7 separate regions of the Homo sapiens genome follow, and all the other regions are linked to region 2. Evidence: promoter capture Hi-C in 16 types of primary human blood cells and fetal thymus (Javierre and others, 2016). All regions are on one chromosome and are shown on one strand. The core of a region is centred on a gene start or on the middle of the fragment in contact, and the rest is flanking DNA. Distances in the headings are between cores, read along the strand shown.

What was found. Contacts are between HindIII fragments. The CHiCAGO score rates a contact against its expected background, and 5 or more counts as called.
Region 1: a contact is called between a fragment that was not itself captured here and the fragment with the promoter of PNPT1 in region 2, in 1 of 17 cell types (non-activated CD4 T cells). The highest score is 7.4, in non-activated CD4 T cells.
Region 3: a fragment that was not itself captured here is called in contact with the fragment with the promoter of PNPT1 in region 2 in 4 of 17 cell types (M2 macrophages, M0 macrophages, total B cells and 1 more); the score reaches 11.4 in M2 macrophages.
Region 4: a fragment that was not itself captured here is called in contact with the fragment with the promoter of PNPT1 in region 2 in 1 of 17 cell types (naive CD8 T cells); the score reaches 5.4 in naive CD8 T cells.
Region 5: a contact is called between a fragment that was not itself captured here and the fragment with the promoter of PNPT1 in region 2, in 2 of 17 cell types (M1 macrophages and M2 macrophages). The highest score is 6.9, in M1 macrophages.
Region 6: a fragment that was not itself captured here is called in contact with the fragment with the promoter of PNPT1 in region 2 in 2 of 17 cell types (M2 macrophages and M0 macrophages); the score reaches 8.4 in M2 macrophages.
Region 7: a contact is called between a fragment that was not itself captured here and the fragment with the promoter of PNPT1 in region 2, in 10 of 17 cell types (activated CD4 T cells, naive CD4 T cells, total CD8 T cells and 7 more). The highest score is 17.8, in activated CD4 T cells.

Annotation. Positions count from the first base shown.
Region 1 is chr2:53,778,000-53,780,699 of GRCh38, forward strand. All of the region lies in intron 1 of ASB3 (ankyrin repeat and SOCS box containing 3), which reads right to left. All of the region lies in intron 1 of GPR75-ASB3 (GPR75-ASB3 readthrough), which reads right to left. Among named protein-coding and RNA genes, the nearest start is that of ASB3, 7.6 kb to the right of the region's middle. The HindIII fragment of the contact is 3,119 bases long and covers 1-2,700 here.
Region 2 is chr2:55,692,476-55,695,175 of GRCh38, forward strand. It overlaps PNPT1 (polyribonucleotide nucleotidyltransferase 1), which reads right to left and starts at 1,369. Exons shown (of 28, transcript NM_033109.5): 1 at 1,188-1,369. The coding sequence starts at 1,348. RefSeq lists a silencer at 559-618 and enhancers at 1,189-1,308, 1,319-1,378, 1,409-1,558. The HindIII fragment of the contact is 6,564 bases long and covers 1-2,700 here.
Region 3 is chr2:57,504,916-57,507,615 of GRCh38, forward strand. No RefSeq gene overlaps it. Among named protein-coding and RNA genes, the nearest start is that of VRK2, 540 kb to the right of the region's middle. The HindIII fragment of the contact is 1,710 bases long and covers 571-2,280 here.
Region 4 is chr2:53,793,981-53,796,680 of GRCh38, forward strand. The region is part of intron 1 of GPR75-ASB3 (GPR75-ASB3 readthrough); the gene reads right to left. It overlaps ERLEC1 (endoplasmic reticulum lectin 1), which reads left to right. Exons shown (of 14, transcript NM_015701.5): 2 at 365-469; 3 at 1,953-2,033. Among named protein-coding and RNA genes, the nearest start is that of ERLEC1, 8.3 kb to the left of the region's middle. The HindIII fragment of the contact is 4,078 bases long and covers 1-2,700 here.
Region 5 is chr2:57,522,817-57,525,516 of GRCh38, forward strand. No RefSeq gene overlaps it. Among named protein-coding and RNA genes, the nearest start is that of VRK2, 520 kb to the right of the region's middle. The HindIII fragment of the contact is 1,205 bases long and covers 816-2,020 here.
Region 6 is chr2:57,484,061-57,486,760 of GRCh38, forward strand. No RefSeq gene overlaps it. Among named protein-coding and RNA genes, the nearest start is that of VRK2, 560 kb to the right of the region's middle. The HindIII fragment of the contact is 872 bases long and covers 853-1,724 here.
Region 7 is chr2:53,761,948-53,764,647 of GRCh38, forward strand. All of the region lies in intron 2 of ASB3 (ankyrin repeat and SOCS box containing 3), which reads right to left. The region is part of intron 2 of GPR75-ASB3 (GPR75-ASB3 readthrough); the gene reads right to left. Among named protein-coding and RNA genes, the nearest start is that of CHAC2, 4.5 kb to the right of the region's middle. The HindIII fragment of the contact is 1,118 bases long and covers 748-1,865 here.

The DNA of each region.
Region 1 (2,700 bases), core at 49-2,548, 1.9 Mb before region 2:
TTAGCCAGGTGTGGTGGCGGGCACCTGTAGTCCCAGCTACTTGGGAGGCTAAGCCAGGAGAATTGCTTGAACCCAGGAGGCAGAGGTTGCAGTGAGCCAAGATGGCGCCACTGCACTCCAGCCTGCGCAACAGAGCAGGATTCTTGTCTCAAAAAAAAAAAAAAAAAAAAAAAGAGTGTAAGCAATCTTTAATTGGAGGCCATTTGGCTAAGATGGTCCTAGGACTCTGGGTTCCTATGTAAGCAAACTGAAGCCCAATGTAAACAGTGAAACAAAACTTAATCTTTGCTTTTTATTTTTTAATTATAAACTGACTATAGTTATATATTTATGAGGTACAAAGTGATGATTTATGAATACAATGTGGAATAATTAAATCTAGTTAACATATCCATGACCTCAAATTTTTTTTGTAGTGAAAACTTTTAAAAGTTACTCTTAGCAAGTATAAAGTACATTATTAGTCACTATATTCACCATACTGTGCAACATATCTCAAAGAAAAAAATTCCTCCCCTTTGACTATCATCTCCCCATTCCCCCATGCCTTCCCTCCAACCCTGGTAACCACTGTTCTACTCTCTGCTTCTTTTAGTTCAACGGTTTTAGATTAAATATATAAGTAAGCACATATGTTGTTTGTCTGCTTGTACTTGGCTTATCTCATTTAGCTTAATGTTCTCCAATCCATCCATGTCGTCACAAATGACAAAGTTTCTTTCATTTTTAAGGCTGAATAGTATTCCACTACGTATGTACACCAGATTTTTCTTTATCCATTCATCTGTCTAAGGACCCTTAGGTTGATTCCGTATCTTGGCTATTGTGATTAATGCTGCAATGAACATGGGAGTGCAGATATCTCTTCAACATACTGATTTCCAATCTTTTAGGTAAATACCCAGAAGTTGGATTGCTGGATCATATGGTAATTCTATTTTTAGTTTTTTGAGGAACTGCCACTGTTTTCCATAACGGTTGTACTAATTTACATTGCCATTAACAGTGTACAGAGGTTCCCCTTTCTCCACATGCCTTGCCAACACTTATCTTTCATCTGTTTGATAGTAGCCATTCTGACACATATTGGGGTGATATCTCATAGTGGTTTTAATTTGCATTTCCCTGATGATTAGTAATGTTGAACATTTTTTCATGTATCTGTTGGCCATTTGTATGTCTTCTTTTGAGAAATGTCTATACAGGTTCCTTGCCCATTTTTTAACTGGATTATTTGTATTCTTTCTATAGAGTTATTTGAGTTCCTTTTATATTCTGAATTTTAATCCCTTATCTCATGTATGGCTTGCAAATATTTCCTCCCAATCCATAGGATGTCACAACTTAATTTTAATCAGAAACCAACAACTATTCTCTAACAAGCAACTTTCTGCCAGATTGTACCCAAATAAGACAAACAAGTAGCTATGACAATCAAGTAATTTTTTTTTTTTCAAGACAGGGTCTCGCTCTGTTGCCCAGGCTGGAGTGCAGTGGCACAATCACAACTCACTGCAGCCTCAACCTCCCAGGCTCAAGCAATCCTCCCACCTCAGCCTCCCAAGTAGCTGGGACTACTGGCATGTGCCACCATGCCTGGCTAATTTTTGCATTTTTTGTAGAGATGGAGTTTCACCATGTTGCCCAGGCTGGTCTTGAACTCCTGAGCTCAAGTGATCCACCTACCTCAGCCTCCCAAAATGATGGGATTACAGGTATGAGCCACTATGCCCAGTCCAATCAAGTAATTTCTTTACTTCGCTTCCACATTCAGCCTGCAAAGGTCTGCCGCTTACTCTGTTAAAACAAGAGCTCCCTGAACTACTTCTAATTTTGGGTGCTGCCAAATTCATTAATCCTTTAACACAAAAACAAATTCTGATAAATTGATTTCGTCTAAAGTTTTTCTTTTAACAAAGTCAAAATGAAGTTACCAAGGAAGCCCTGAAGGCTTTTTGTGATAAGGCTTAAAAGATTACATGATAGTAAAAGGTTACATGCTGAAAGATTCTCAACTAAAGAGCCTTATCATACATCAAGAGCCAGAGTTTCTTACATATTCTTCTTGTTTCCAATCTCTTTTCCTCTTTCCAATACACGCTCTACTGTGCACTCAGAATTACTTACCTAAAATATGAAACTGAGGTCAGTAATCAAAATGTCTTCCTGCTGCATATAAAATAAATTCAAATCCTTTAATCTGGCATTCAACTACTTACCATCTGGTCAATCTGGTATCAGTGTATTTGTCAAATTTCACTTCCCACTGACGTACTCCCCTGCCCCTCATGCTCCAATCACACCACCCTCCTCATTCTTTAAGACCTAGCTCAAATGAGCGAACTAATGTTATGTGGCAAGCAATGACTATGCACTGAGACCACCAAAATAAATAAGATAGTCCCCGGCTATCAAGAATCATATTTGGTGGAGAAACACACAAGCAAACAAATCTATGTTATTTAATATAAAAGATGTGATATAAAATACAAGCAGAGGGGTGGGTATGGTGCTCGTGCCTGTAATCTCAGCAATTTGGGAGGCCAAAGCAAGGGGATCACTTGAAGTCAGTAGTTTGAGACCAGCCTGGGCAATATAGTGAGACCATGTCTCTACAAAAATGTAAAAATTAGCTGGGCATAGTGGCACATGTCTGCAGTCCTAGCCACTCTGGAGGATAAAGCAGAAGGATCTCTTGAG
Region 2 (2,700 bases), core at 119-2,618:
TTAGCAATTCCATTTATTCTAAGAACGATTAAAGCAAACTTTTTTTTTAAAAAGCGGTCCCCTAAAAAAAAGTATGGGCTTTGTAAGCAAAAAACAGAAATTCAAAAACCACCTAGTCCCATAATACTAACTTTTTTATAGACTCTTAGAAAGTTATCTAACCTTTTTTGAGCCTCTGTAGTCTTAACTATAAAATGAGGGTAATAGTACCTTTACGACAGGTTTAAAAAGATTGCGAGGATCATATAACTGGCGTTCAAAAAACTGACTTTTCCTTTTCCTCCTAACCCAGGGTCATAGTGGTCACACTTTAGGCAATCAATTAGATTGGATGACATGATATCTTGTACTCCTAACTTCAAGTCATCCTTCCGTCTTAGCCTCCCAAAGTGCTGGGATTACAGGTGTGAGCGCCTGACCTTTTGCCATCTCTTTGCATCGATCTTTGCTTTTGTTTCTCTCTGTGTGTCTCCTTGCCTCTCTCCCTGTCACTGTCTCTCTCTCTCCCCTGCCTCCCTCTTGGTCTCTTTTTTTTGCTGTCTCTTTCTGATGACCTTGTTCCCATCTCTGTGCGTGTGTGGCTCTCTCCCTGTCCATCTCTTACCATCTCTGCCTTCCTCTCCCAGGTCTTAAACGAATATTTCCACAATGTCTGTGAACTGGACCTGGTGTTCAACTTCTACAAGGTAGGCTCCTGGTGAAGAGGAGGCTGAAGGAGCCCGAGGAGTGGGACGTGGGGGACCCGTGGTGCACTAGCCACCCGGAGCCTCTGCTGAGGTCTGTGTCCCAGCTCGAGGGGCATCAGAGCCCCAGCTTCCAGGGTCCGGGCCAGCATCCCGGGGGGCCTCGTCTCACCCACGTCAACTCGTTATTCCTAGGTGGAATGTTTCCCACTTAAGAGCCCAGTGGTCCCGGAAAGTAAAGAGATCGGAAGTCAGGTGGACGGACAGAGTCGGATGGAGCAAAGAAGCCCGGCACACACCAACAGAGAGAACGACATAGCGCGGGAAGGAGGGTCCGAGGAGACACATTCCAAACCCGGAAAGGGAAATTTGGAATTTAGGTTTAGGGTAAGGAGAGATTAAATAGAGCTGGGATACCGGGTTTCTACCCTGGGAGATGAATACGCTCAAGCTGGCTGGACAAGACACCTTATGACAATACAGTGAACGCACGTCACTCCTTACCTGTTGCCTAAGTCCACGGCCACAGCTCGAGACCCTGCGCTACTCCATAGTGCTCGCACTTGCAACTGGGTGAGTGCCCGATCCCGCCGTGGCAGAAGGAAAGGACCATCGCTCAGGGGCCGGAGCCGGAGGCACGAGCAGCAGTACCTGCAGGCCGCCATGACACCCGGCACGCGGTCAACGCAGGCTGTGCCCTGATTGGCTCACTCCGCAGACCGTGGGGCGGAGCCTGATGGAGTTTCGTTTCCGCGGTGCCCGAGGGACGCCGGGGTAACGGAAACCTTGGCCACCTTCTACGAAGACTAGAGAGGGTCAAACCTATCAGAACGCGATTATGTTGCAAACGATCTTTGTCTTTATGTGCCAACGAAAGGCAATTAGATAAATAAGGTTTTTGTGTGTGTACTATCGTAATTTAAAGGAGAAGTCCTAGAATAATGTAAATGTTTAATATGCAGAGTAAATTTATATTTACTTTTAATACTAGAAGTCATAGAACAACACATTATTATTATTTGGATCTGTGAACTAAGAATTAGAATTTGGGTGGTGGGCCTTGGAAAGAGATCTCCTTCTCCCCTTCTCCGCCCTGGTTTTTATTTTAAAAATTTCACATAGCAGATATGTTACTACAGCGATTTGTGTTAACCAATTTACAGTAAATTCATTTTTCATCGACTTGTAATTTTAGAAATCTTTATTGTCACTTCTGATTCATTTTCATTTCCATTGCTAATAATTAGCAATTTATATTTCTGTCCCTTTTGGTCGAACTCTTAAATGCAAAATGCCAGCTACTGTTTGAAGTAAATATTTTGTAAAATGAAAAAAAAAAGTTTTTGGGATTTGAAAAATTTTTAGAGAATGGATAAATTTCTTCCACCCCATTAATCCATTCTGTTAGAAATTCTTTATGTTTTTCCTTGAATGAACCAATGGGCATTTTCATATTATGATGTAAATTTTTTGTGTAAGGTGATAACCGCCTTACCCCAAAGAAAACCAAACAACAAAAACCCAACACTCATTCAAACACAGTTTTAAGAATTAAAAACGTTGGCTGGACGCTGTGGCTCACGCCTGTAATCCCAGCACTTTGGGAGGCCGAGGCGGGCGGATCACCTGAGTTCGAGACCAGCCTGACCAACACAGAGAAACCCCGTCTCTACTAAAAATACAAAACTAGCCGGGCATGGTGGCTTATGCCTGTAATCCCAGCTACTCGGGAGGCTGAGGCAGGGGAATCGCTTGAACCCGGGAGGCGGAGGTTGCAGTGAGCCGAGATCGCGTCATTGCAACAAGAGTGAAACTCGGTCTCAAAAAAAAAAAAAAAAAAAAAAAAAAAAAAAGTCCGGGCGCAGTGGCTCATGCCTGTAATCCCAGCACGCTGGGAGGCAGAGGCGGGTGGATCACGAGGTCAAGAGACCCAGGGCATCCTGGCCAACATGCTGAAACCGCGTCTCTACTAAAAATACAAAAATTAGCTCGGTGTGGTGGCGCGTGCCTGTAATCC
Region 3 (2,700 bases), core at 176-2,675, 1.8 Mb after region 2:
CATTTTTATAACTGTGACATTTCAATAATTCGATAAAAGTGAAATTATACCTTATGTGACATTTTTGGGTTGGCTTTTTACAGTCAGCATAATTCTCTTAAGATCCATCCAGATTGTTGTGCATGACAATAATGCATTCCTTTTTCTTGCTGAGCAGTATTCCATGCTAGACATATGTCATAGTTTATTTAAACATTCAACCATTGAAGAACATCAGAGTTGTGTCTTTTTTGGAGATATTGTGAATAAAGTTGCTATAAATATTCATGCACATGTTTTCGTATTAACATATTTTCATTTATGTGAGATAAATTTCTAAAGGTACAAATAATGGGGCATAAAGTAGTTGTACACTTACTTTTTTAAATAAACTATCAAAGTATTTTCCAGAATGCCTGTATAATTTTACATTCCCATTATCAATGTACGTGTGATCTAGTTTGTCCATATCTTTGCCAGCATTTGATATTTTACTTTTTTTAGGCCATTCCGAGAAATATATAGTAATATCTCATTGTGATTTTAATTTGCGTTTTCCTAATGGCTAACGATGTTAAACATGTTTTTATAAGCTTATTTGTCATCTATATATTCTTTTTGAGAAGTTACTTCTTTGTGTTTTTTGTTCATTCCATAATTGGATTTTTGCTTACTATTAAGTTTTATGAATCCTTTATATAGTCTACATCTTAGTAATTTGTTGCATATAGGGTTTGTAAATATTTTCTTTCACCCTGTAGCTTGTCTATTTATCTTCTTAATGAGGTTCTTCATGGAGCAAAAGTTGTTTTTTTAAAATTTATTATTATTATTTTTTGAGACAGGGTCTCACTGTGTTGCCCAGGCTGGAGTGCAGTGGTGAGATCTCTGCTCTCTGCAACCTCTGCTTCCCGGGTTCAAGCAATTCTACCGCCTCAGCCTCCCGAGTAGCTGGGATTCCAGACAAATGCTACCACGCCCGGCTAGTTTTTGTATTTTTAGTAGAGGCGAGGTTTCACCATGTTACCAGGCTGGTCTCAAACTCCTGACCTCAAGTGATCTGCCTGCCTTGGCTTCCCAAAGTGCTGGGATTATAGGCATGAGCCACTGCGCCCGGCCATTTTTTTTTTTTAATAGAGTTCAGTTAATCATGTTTTTCTCTTATGAAACATGCTTTTGTTTTCAAGTTTAAGAACTGTTTGCTAAGTCTACATCCCCCAGATATTATCCTATTTTTGTCTAAGTGTTTTATAGTTTTATGTTTTATATTTAAGTAGATGATCCAATTTGAGTTAAAGTTTATTGTAATGGGTGTTAAATTGCTCTAGCACTATTTGTTGAGAATACTATCTTTCCTCTATTCAATTGCTTTTGCACATTTTAAAGAAATAAGTTGGGCAGAATTTTGTAATCAATTTCTGAGTTCTCTATTCTGTTCCTTTGTTCTATGCCTACCCCTCCCTACAAGCCATGAAAAATCCATTTGGGAGGAATTGGAATTGCTGCTATACTAACTCTTCTAATCCATGAACACGGTAACACGGTATGTCTCTTAGTTTATTTAGGTCATCTTTGATTTATTTTACAGCATTTTGTAGTTATCAGCATGTAAGTATGGCATAATTTTTGTTAAAAATATACCTATTTAATATTACAAACAATTATAATTTTAATGTTCACGTATTTATTGCTAGTATATAGAAATAAAATTATTTTTTGTTGTTGACTTAGTACTCAGCAAACTTATGGAAGTCATTTATTAGTTTTAGGCATTTTTATTGTCAATTTCTTGGGATTTTCTATGTAGGCGTAATGTAATCTACTAATAGGGATAGTTTTATGTCTTTATTTCTGATCTTTATGTCTTTTATTCAATTTTCTTGCCTACTACACTGGCTAGACCATTCAATACTGTATTGAATAAGAGTGGTGAGAGCAGACATCTCTGTAGCACAAGAGGGTTTGTGAAGACCATCACCCTGCCCTTGCTGCGAGATGAGACCTGCGGGCCGTGGGTTACTGACACCTGCTATTTAAACTGATCTTGCTCTGTCTCTTCTCTATGTGGATAAAATACTGTTCCATCTAGTGCCTATAGGAGTTACGTCTTTCTTTTTATCTTGGTTTGGACTGCTGTAACAAAATATTGTATGGCTTAAAAACGGATATTTATTTCTCATCGTTCTGGAAGCTCGAAGTCCAAGATCAGGGTGCCAGCATGGTCAGGTTCTTGGTTCACAGAAGGTTGCCTTCTCACTGTATCTTCATATGCTGGGGTGAGGAGTGTATTGGAGAAGAGGAAGCTTTGGTCCCTTCATCTACTTACAGGAGTACTAGTCTCATCTTGGAGGCCCCACCCTCATAGGTAAAGGCCCCACTTCCAAATACCATTACCTTTGGGATTAGGGCTTCAACATATGAATTTGGGGAGAACAAAACCATTCGGTTCAGAGCAGTTGAAGACTCCAATACCTGCAAACTGTTCCAATTCCTGAATTGACATTGTGAGTCTACTGCTTCTTGTGGTAGGAAACAGATGTCACTTGCTCAACATTTTTATGTAATGTGCAGGGTTTTTAGTTGTACCTAGTAGAAGAAGTAGAAGCAAACGTATCTCCTTCAACTTAGAAGCAAAAGTCCATATTGTTTCTTTTTTTTAATCAATGCATTCTTATTTAGAATAAACATTTTTGAGAATGGATGTGTTCATTTACATTTAAG
Region 4 (2,700 bases), core at 139-2,638, 1.9 Mb before region 2:
GTGTTGAATACACACTCAAAGACGAGAACAATAAACACTGGAGATTCCAAAAGACAGGAGAGAGGGAGGGGTGACAAACTACCTATGAAGTATTAGGATACTATGTTCAATACTTGGGTGACAGGGATATTAGAAGCTCAGACTTCATCATCATGCAATATATCCATGTAACAAACCTGCACATGTACCCCCCGAATCTAAAATTTTTGTTAATGTTTGTAGCATATTTTCCCTCCCTTTAAAATAATCATCTGTTGAAATGTTAAATTAGTTTAAAGAATCTTTTTTCCAGCTAAGACTAAAGTTATTCAGTGTGATACAATTTCACGGAGAACATAATGTATGTTTTTTCTTCTATTTGCAGCCCACAACTGGAGTTTTATATAAAGAAGATAATTATGTCATCATGACAACTGCACATAAAGAAAAATATAAATGCATACTTCCCCTTGTGACAAGTGGGGATGAGGTAAGTTTTTATAAATATATTGATAATCCTGTCACCAAAAATATTTATGTAAAACATTGTAACTACATACTTTGAAGTAAAATTGAATAACAGATTTCTCAATAACGCTCTTTTAGCATAAAAATAGTAATCACTTTTAATATCCCTGAATTCTTTGATTTTGCAGTTTATCTTGGGAAAAATTAGCAATCAATTTTTTTTTATTTTATTTATTTATTTATTTTGAGACGAAGTCTCACTCTATCGCCAGGCTGGAGGGCAGTGGCACGATCTTGGCTCACTGCAACCTCCGACTCCCGGGTTCAAGAAATTCTCCTGTCTCAGCCTCCCAAGTAGCTGGGATTACAGGCACACACCACCACACCCAGCTAATTTTTGTATTTTTAGTAGAGACGGGGTTTTACCATGTTGGCCAGGATGGTCTCGATTTCTTGACCTCATGATCTGCCCACCTCGGCCTCCCAAAGTGCTGGGATTACAGGCATGAGACACCATGCCCGGCCGCAACCAATTATTAACGTTTTGAATGAAAATCTAACTCCACACTTGCTTTCTTTATAGAAATTAGGGTTTTAAAACAAGATAACAATTTTTAAATGTATATGTGACTTTTTAAATAAATGATTGTTTATAAATAAGTCTGTAGGTACCCCATGCTTTCTCATTATCTTAGCCCATGCCCTTTTCTTCCTCCTAAAATGCCCTAATTGCCTCTTATCCATCCTTCAAGGCAATGACTTCTTTCAAGATGAAACAGGAGAGGCAGCATGGTAAAATGGGAAGGACACCGGCCTAGGAGCCAGGAGGCTGAGGTATAGGCTATAGCTAGCTGTGGAACCTTGAACAAATTTGAAACTGACTTCCTCCACTCAATAAATTTATTAAGCCAATTCAGTAATATTTTCATGATCTGGAAAATAGAAATATTAAACTCAGTGCTTTATTGGGTTTTGTTCAGATTTGAAATCAAAGACCACTGTTTTAAGTCTCCTTGAGACACACACACACACGCACACGGCATTCAAATCTGAAATGTAAAAATACATAAAAAACTGAAAAGTGCCTTAAAACTTTCCAATATATCCTATAAGATTCAACTATTCTAAGGGCTTTCATAGCTAAGAATTTGTTTGGGTACAAGCATTTAAAAATTCTGAAATAGGTTTATAAGAATTGTTCAGGAAACTGATACTTAAAAACCTTTTTTCCCTCCATTCTTGCCTTGTGAAAAGCAAAAATACATTTTAAAAAAACCTTTTTTTAAGAAAGCATGAACTCTGTGAAGATTATTTTACGGCTCCATATTTTATACTTCAGTTATTTGAAAGCAATGGCGTACCGTAGGGTCTTGTTAAACATTTTGACTTTTTTTTCTCTTTTATTTCTAAGCATTTGTGATTTGAGTAATGAGTTAATATCCAAACAGCAAAGTTGGGTGAAATTCTAGAAAAACTGTAAGTATTAAACTCCAATTCTTTCTTAGGAAGAAGAAAAGGATTATAAAGGCCCTAATCCAAGAGAGCTTTTGGAGCCACTATTTAAACAAAGCAGTTGTTCCTACAGAGTATGTATTTTATGTTTACTTGATGACTAGAAAATAGATTACCAACAGCCAACAGACCTTTGAAAATACCGTTTCTTCTTTATTATGTTGTGTCAGGTTTTTTTTTTTAACTATTATTTTAGGTTTAGGGTTACCTGTGCAGGATTGTTATATAGGTAAACTGCATGTCACCGGGGTTTGGTGTACAGATTATTTAGTCACCTAGATAATGAATATAGTACCTGATGGGTTGGTTTTTTTTTTTTTTTTTCTTTTAATCCTCTCCCTCCTCCCATTCTTTACCTTCAAGAAGGCCCTAAGTCTGTTATTCCCCTCTTTGTGTCCATGTGTTCTCATTTTTTAGCTCCCATTTATATAAATGAGAACATACAGTATTTGGTTCTCTGTTCCTATTGTATCAGATGTTAAGTTAGGTATAAATATAAATTATTTCTTTTTTTTTCTTTCTTTGCTTTTTTCTTTTTGAGAAAAGGTCTCATTCTGTCACCCAGGCTAGAGTATAGTGGCATGATCACGATTCACTGCAGCCCCAACGTCCCATGCTCAAGCTGTTCTCCCACCTCAGACTCCCCAGTAGCTGAGCACCACCATGCCCTGCTAATTTTTGTATTTTTTATAAAAATGAGGTTTTTCACAGTGTTGCCCAGACTAGTCTCAGACTCCTGAA
Region 5 (2,700 bases), core at 168-2,667, 1.8 Mb after region 2:
CTGAAAAAGTGGAAGCAGCTTCGTAACTGGGTAATGGTCAAAGGTTGGAAGAATTTAGGGGGCTCAGAAGGAAACATGAAGATGAGGCAAAGTGTGGAGTTTCTTATAGACTGATTAAATGGTTGTGATCAGATGCTTGTCTATCAAGATGAATAGTGAAGTTCAGGCTGATGAGGCCTCAGTTAGAAATGTAGAACTTATTTGAGACTGGAGCAAAGGTCACTCTTCTTATGCCTTAGCAAAGAACTTGGGTATGATATGTTTATGCCTTAGGAATCTGGAAATTTGAACTTGTGTAGGTTATCTGGTGGAAGAAATTTCTAAGCACCAAAGCATTCACGACATGGCCTGGCTGCTTCTAACAACTTACACTCAGATGTGGGGACAAAGAAATTACTTAAATTTGGAAGTTATATTTAAAGAGAAAAGCAGAGGGTAAAAGTTTGAAAAATTTGTAGCCTGGCTATGTGGTAGGAAAGAAAATCCCATTTTCTGGAGAAGGATTCAAGCAGGCTGTGGAGAAACCACTTGCTAGTGAGATTTGCATAATTAAAAAAGAACCAAGTGCAAAGAAAATAGGAAAAAGGGCTTGAAAGCATTTCAGAGGTCTCTGAGCCAGCTTCTTGCATCACAGGCCCTGAGGCCTTTTAGAAGGACTGAATGGTTTCCTGGCCCAGGCCCAGGGAAACACTGCCCTGTACCATTCCAGGAGGCTGCCTCTCAAATTGTGTCCACGTGGGCTCCAGCCTCAGCTCAAAGGGCCCAAGGAACAGCTTGGGCCACCATTCTGGAGGATGCAAGCCATAAATCTTGGAAGCTTTTATGGAGTGTAAAGCCTGTAGGCACATAGAGTGTAAAAGTGAAGAAGGCTCAGCACCCTTTGCCTAGATTTCAGAGGATGTATGAGAAATCCTGGGTGCCAAGGCAGAAGACTGCTGCAGGGATGGGACCCATACAGACAACCTCTATTAGGGCAGTATAAAGAAGAAGTGTAGGGTTGGAGGCCCTACAAAGAATCCCCACTAGGGCACTACCTAGTGGAACTGTAGGAGGAGGGCCAACATCCTCCAGACCCCAGAATCGTAGATTCAACTGGAATCTTTCATACCGCACCTGGAAAAGCTGCAGGCATTCAACTCCAAACCATGCGAGAAGACACAGGGGCTGAACCCTGCAAAGCCACAGGGATGGAGTTCCCCAAAGCCTTGGAAGCCCACCTTTGCACGAGTGTGTCCTGTAGGTTAAAGGAGATTATTTTGGAACTTCAAGACTTAATTACTGCCCCGCAGAATTTCAAACTTGTGTGGAGCCTGTAGCCCTTCTTTTGGCTGATTTCTCCCTTTTGGAATGGGAATGTTCACCCAATATCTGTACCCACGTTGTATCTTGGAAGTAAATAACTTATTTTGATTTCACAGGCTCATAGGTGGAAGGAATTCATCTCCAGATGAGACTTTGGGCTTGGGACTTGGGACTTTTCAGTTAATGCTGGAATGAGTTAAGACTTTGGGAGACTATTGGGAAAGCACTGAGACAGCCACATGGGAGGGGGTTCCTGGAGAAATTTCAACCAGCCTGCCCACTGGGGTAGAGCCTCGGGAAGTTTGCACAGTTTTCAGCAGGGAGGAATCTGGCCCCTCCGCTTCCTGCGTGGAACCTGGGATTCAAATGGCAGGACGGGAAGTGCTGTAGCAGGGACTGTGGCCTTGTAAGAGTCCCTGTTTCACCCTTTTCTTCCTTTCTATCCAATAAACTGTGTCTTACTCACCATTCAAACCATGTGAGCCTAAATTTTCATGGTCACAGGACTGACAAGGACCCTGTCTTTAGCTGAACTAAGGAAAAGTCCTGCAACAGCATGAATGTATTTTGCATTGTGAGAAGAATTTGACATTTGGTGAGGGCCAGGGGCAGAATAAAATAGTTTGTATATTTGTTCTCCTACTCCAACAAAACATAAATATATTTTATACTCTGTATGATATTCCAATACAGCATTGTTTATTTCTCAAATTGTTCAAGCTTTGGACATTGGCAGCTGTTTCATTTGGCTGCTGCATAATTATCACACCTATCTTTTTTTTCTTGTCACTTGTTACTTTCTGACTTATTTGTTTATTTAAATATATTTAAGGGATACAAGTGTAGATTTCTTATATGCATATATTGCATAGTGGTGAAGTCTGGGCTTCTAGTGTACCCATTATCCAAATAGTGTATATTGCACCCAGTAGGTACTTTTCCAACCCTCGCCCCCTACACTATCCCACCTTTTGTAGTCTCCAATGTACATCATTCCACTCTGTATGTCAATGTGTACCTCTTGTTTTGGCCCCCACATGTAGGTGACAGCATGCAGTATTTAGCTTTCTGTTTCTGAGCTATGTTACTTAGGATAATGGCCTCCAGTTCCATCCAAGTTGTTGAAAAGACATGATTTCATTATTTTTATGGCTAAGTAGTATTCCATAGTGTATTGATATCACATTTTTTAAATCCAGTCCTCCATTGATGGACACTTAGGTTGATCCTATATCTTCACTATTGTGAAGAGTACTGTAGTAAACATACGAGCATAAGTGCCTTTTTGATATAATGATTTATTTTCTTTTTAATAGACACCTAGAAGTGGGATTGCTGGATTATCTGGTATTTATTTTTAAGTTTGTTGAAAAATCACCATACTGTTTTCCATAGAGG
Region 6 (2,700 bases), core at 39-2,538, 1.8 Mb after region 2:
ATCCCCGACTTACAATAGGGTTATGTCCCAATAAACCCAGTGTAAACTGTAAAAATCATAAGTCAAAATATCCAAGTTGGGAAGTATTTATAATTTAAAGTCAGGTAGTTTGTAGTTTGATGCTTCCAGTTTTGTTCTTTTTGCTCAGAATTGCCTTGGCTGTTTACGGTTTTTTTTGTGTGTGTGTGTGTACATTTGTGTGGTTCCATTATGACTTTTGGGATTGTTTTTCCTATTTCTGTAAAAAAAAAATGGCATTGGAATTTTGATGCAGATTGTATTGAATCTGTAGATCAAGTTGGGAAGTACAGACATTTTAACAATATGAATTATTCCAACCCATGAACACAGAGTATTTTTTCATTTCCTTGTATATTCTGTAATTTCTTTTCTCAAAGTTCTGTAATTTCTAAGACCTGTATTTTTCATCTCCTTGGTTAAATTTATTCCTAAGTATTTTATTTTGTGTACCTATTATAAATGGAATTGTTTTCCATGGATAAATGGGGCAGAGGGAATTGGTACACAGACCCATATCCATGGAAGGCAGAAGGTCTGATTGACAACAGAAAATTAGTGAGCTGTAGAAATGCGAAAGTAATTTCTGGTGCTCAAGTGAAGGAATAGGTTTTAGAGCAGAGCATGGATGGTTTATCAGTACATCTGTGGGACCAGGAAGGAAGGCCCAGTTGTTGGATCAGATGCTAGTAGATGGATAGATGTAGTTGTATGAATCTGGGGATCTCTGCTGAATGTTTTAGTTGTCTCAGTGAAATTGTCATTAAGACTATCAGCTGAAAGTAAGAAGACAGGGAAAATTGATATTTGAAGAGAAAGGAAGAACGTGAAATAAGCTTCTAGGAGAGTGGGAAAATAAATAGACTACAGAAATAGAGTGTGATCCTCTGCTCATCTGAAGTTTTTGGCCATGAATTTAAAGTAAGACTACTCAGTTGCATTGTTTGTGTTACTCTAGTCATTTTCAGCGGCACAAATGTCTTTGAAAATCTCAAAAAAAAATGATTTTCAACATAGAATTCTATACCTTTCCAAACTTTCAGTAAGAGTCGGGATGAGATAAAAATAATTTCAAACACACAGGTTTTCAAAGAAGTGACCTCCCATGCATGCATTCCGAGGAAATACTGAAGGATGTGCTCCATCAAGATGAGGATATAAACTAAGAAAAAGAGAGATATGAGATAACAAGAAACAGGAAATCAAACGTGGATAGCAGTGAAGGGAATCCTTGAATATATGTGAAAGGAGGGGCTCACACAACAGCTGTGCTCCAAGAACAGAGGGCAGTCAAATCTGACTAGAAGGAGTACTGCTTCAGGAAGATGAAATGGACAGAATATGTGAAATAACTAAATGTCTTTAGAGGAGATTCAGGAAATTTTTAAAAAGTTGGTTACTGATGAGTACGTAAAGATATGAAAATTATTAGTTCCCAGTAAAATAAAAAGGTTTCTAGGAGGGAAAAGTAATTATAGTTTATTGACCGGATCAGTTGTAAGCAGTGTTTACAACATAATAATGCAAATACTGAACAGCAGTCTTATAAAAATTCCATATAACAATATCACAATGTTGGGGGATAGAAGTACCATTCATGCATGGTGGAAATAGCAATTGGAGAACTAAAAATATCCAAATTCTTACATTAAAAAGGAGGTCAGCTATTAATAATTCAGGCTGAAAAATAAAAATGCTGCAATGTAAGCTTTTATTTAGAAATTTAGATCAATGCCAAAATAATTACTCAATAGAGGTGAAATTAGTTGTCTTTGGAATGGGAGCAGGGGAAAAGGCAGAGAACTTTGCTTCCCTCCAAGAAATGACATAGAACCATTTTACTCATTATGCTCACGCATAACTGTGTGCAAGAAAAAGAGAAGAAAAAGAACACACACAGAAGAAGTAGCACACTTGAAAGAAATGGAAAGTGGTTCAAAGTAGCTGCAGGGTAGAATGTGTGTAGTGATGTTTAAGGCCAATAAAAAGAGAAAAGTAGGTTGTGAGAAAAACGTCAAACTAAGAAACTTTTACTTCATTCAAGAGAATATAAGAAATCATCACAAGTAATGAGGCAAGAAAATTATATAATCAGATTTGTGCAAAGATGATTCTAAGAGCAGTGTACATTGTAGTTTGGAAGATACAAGGCTGAAACATCAAAATGAGCCACATTACTGAAATTTCTCAGAAAGACACCAGGGCCTTAGGCTGTCTGTTTCCTTTCAGGCTATGTGTATCTATTCCACTTCCATATCCCTCACCTTTGCCTATTTCTCTTTCCACTTCTCCTTAAGACTTATTTTCTTCTCTAAAGCCAATAATAGAAGTGAAGATTTTGTGTGTGTGTGCATATGTGTGTGTGTGTTACTGTGGGCATATGCATAACATGCATATTTTTCTGAAAATGAATACATAACTATGCACTCTACTTAATTTAAAAGGTGTGTATATATGAAAATTCTATTATCTTATGGAAAAAATAATTCTATTTTACAATGTGGATAATTGTTTTTTATGGGCCAGTGGTCTCTGACATAAAATATATTGTCTAAAATGTTATCTAAGCCCTAAATTGGAGTTTGAGGTAAAAAAAAATAGAAATAAATATATAACATTATTAATCTGAAAACATCCCTGATGCTATAAGTCAACCCTAATATCCTTAGTGAGACCTAAAAT
Region 7 (2,700 bases), core at 57-2,556, 1.9 Mb before region 2:
ATAAATTACATTACATCTCTACCATGAAATACTACACAAAAGTGTTTTCACTCAAGAGAGCAGAAGAGTGACTTGGTCTGTTGCATTTTAAAATGATCCCTCTAATATATTGAGGGTGGTCTGTCATAGGATGCAGAAGGAGCAATGGCAGATAGAGAAGATCTGTTAAGATGCTATTATAGCAACGCAGACAAGGTATTAATGGTAGTGAGAAGTGATCTAACTGTGTGTGTGTGTGTGTGTGTGTATACATACACACAAATATAGACATACACATACACAAATTTGCTGACTGACTAGATGAGAAATATGAGAAAAAGAAAGGAATTAATGATGGCCCAGAGTTTCTGGCCTGAGCTGGAACAATGGAATATTTCTATCTAACAGATGAAAAAACTAAACCACTTAGAGGTTAAAAAACCTGTCCAAAGTCACACCAATAAAATGGTAGAGTCACTAGAATTCAGGTCCATCTGACCGTAACTCTTAATCGCTGTGCTACAATGATTTATTTGTCTAAGGAACTTCTGCATCTGTTACTGTGCCCAGTATTAGTGCGTATTTTCTTATTTAACATGAACTAATAAAAAATACTATGAGCTAGATCATTTATTAGCCAAATAAAAGTATTTTTTAGCTATATGCTTAATAATTATAAGATTTTTAAGGGACTTTTAGTCAGCAAATGACTTATTATTGAATGGCATTAATTGTCAGTGAAGATCATTACTGCCCTCCAGGATGACAAGCTTCATAAAATCTCAACACCCATTACACCCAACCTCCAATACAGGAGAGAAGACAAGCAAATTTGTTATCTGTGCTAATATGTTAAACAGAAAACTAAAATGAGATACATAAGAAATACAAAAATATGTATGCATATTAAACTTCTATGTAATCTACACCACACTTGAATGCTCTTCTCCAACTTGAGTCAGAAGACCATGTATGGTACTCAGAATGGATTCCAAATCTAAATTGAAGAGACAGTGAAGCAAAACTCTTCTAATCATTTTAGATATTTCCATTTTATTTGTGTAGGCCTACATACCTTCTTATTTGGGTGCACTAATTATCTTTTAGGAATCTCTGACAGTGTATTAATATTAGATAAACCTCAGGGAGGTAGGAAAATTATATAATAAAAGACAGCAGGTGTGATGCATCACACCTGTAATCCCAGCACTTTGGGAAGCCAAGGCAGGAGGATCACTTGAGCCAAGGGTTTGAGACCAGCCTCGGCAACAAAGTGAGACAGTTAGCCAGGCATTGGTGGTGTGCACCTGTAGTCCCAGCTACTTGGGAGACTGAGGCAGGAGAACCGCTTGAATCTGGGAGGTGGAGGTGGTGGTGAGCTGAGGTCGCACCACTGCACTCCCACCTGGGCAACAGAGCAAGACTCTGTCTCAGAAAAAAAGGAAATACAGTCGGGCTTCTGTATCCACGGGTTTTGCACCTGCAGATTCAACCAACTGGGATGGAAGATAATAGCATTTGTAGGATGTGGAACCCACAGATACAGACGGCTGACCTTTTGTATGTGTGTATAGGACGTTTTCCTATCTTCAGGGCAGACTGCCGAACTTGAGGAGCATCCATGAATTTTGGTGTCCGTGGACATTTTGGGACCAATTCCCTGTGGATATGGCAGGACAACTGTAGAGATGAATTTAACAGCCAGTTCAAATGCCTTTAGTCAAAAGCATGCCCAAGTTTACTCAGCAGATGAAAAAAATCTGTAACATAAACTACACTATTCCGATATGAAGAAGAGATGTAACAGTATATTGGAAATGAGCTTTTTGCCTAGAAAAGGATATTCAAACTCATGTCTTTGTTACTAAAAATAGTTTGGGAACTCAAGCTTTATAGTTAACTTCAAACAGATTCTGAAAACATATCTTAAGCGTTTGAAATTAGAGGAATAACATCTATTTTTCCACTATCTTCAAACACTCAACTATAATAGACACTAGACACTTGAACATGTGATTTTAAAAACAATCATGACAAATTTCCTGCATTATGATTTAGGAAGTTTAGCCTTACCATCTCTTACCTGTTAAGACAAAAAAAAGAAAAAAACAAAACAACAACAACAAAAAAAACACCTACCACTACCAAAAACAATGTAAAGATTATTTCCTTTCCCGTCCAGCAGGTAACAAATTAGTAGTTCTGATGGGCTATGGACCCAGAAGTTTATATTTTAAGGACCTATACCTGGTGATGACAAGTATGCAGGAAAGAGGGTCTGAATTTCCACGATCAATGAAATGAAATTGGTTCTGAGTGTTACAATGCAGAGTATTATAGTCAACCTCATTTTAACTGAATGCTATAAATTCATTCAATTAAATGTTAGAAGCTTGGTATGAGAGGAAAAAAAAGGGCTTTAGAGTCAGAGAAATGGGTTCAAATCAAATACCCTAGTTTATTATGTAACCTTTTACAAGTCAACTTCTCTGAGCCTTGGTCTTTTCACCAATAAAATGAGGATAATACTGCCTCTAACACCATTTTTATAAATATTAGATAAAGAAGATAAATTGAGCATGTGGCACAATGACTATCACAAAGCAATGCTCAGTCACCATTTGTTTTCTTCCTACCCCCTCTATACTAAATGTCAGAATCTCGCCTTTAGTCAATGACCTTCACTCAGTAGTGTGCTGGTTAACATTTAATAACTAGCTG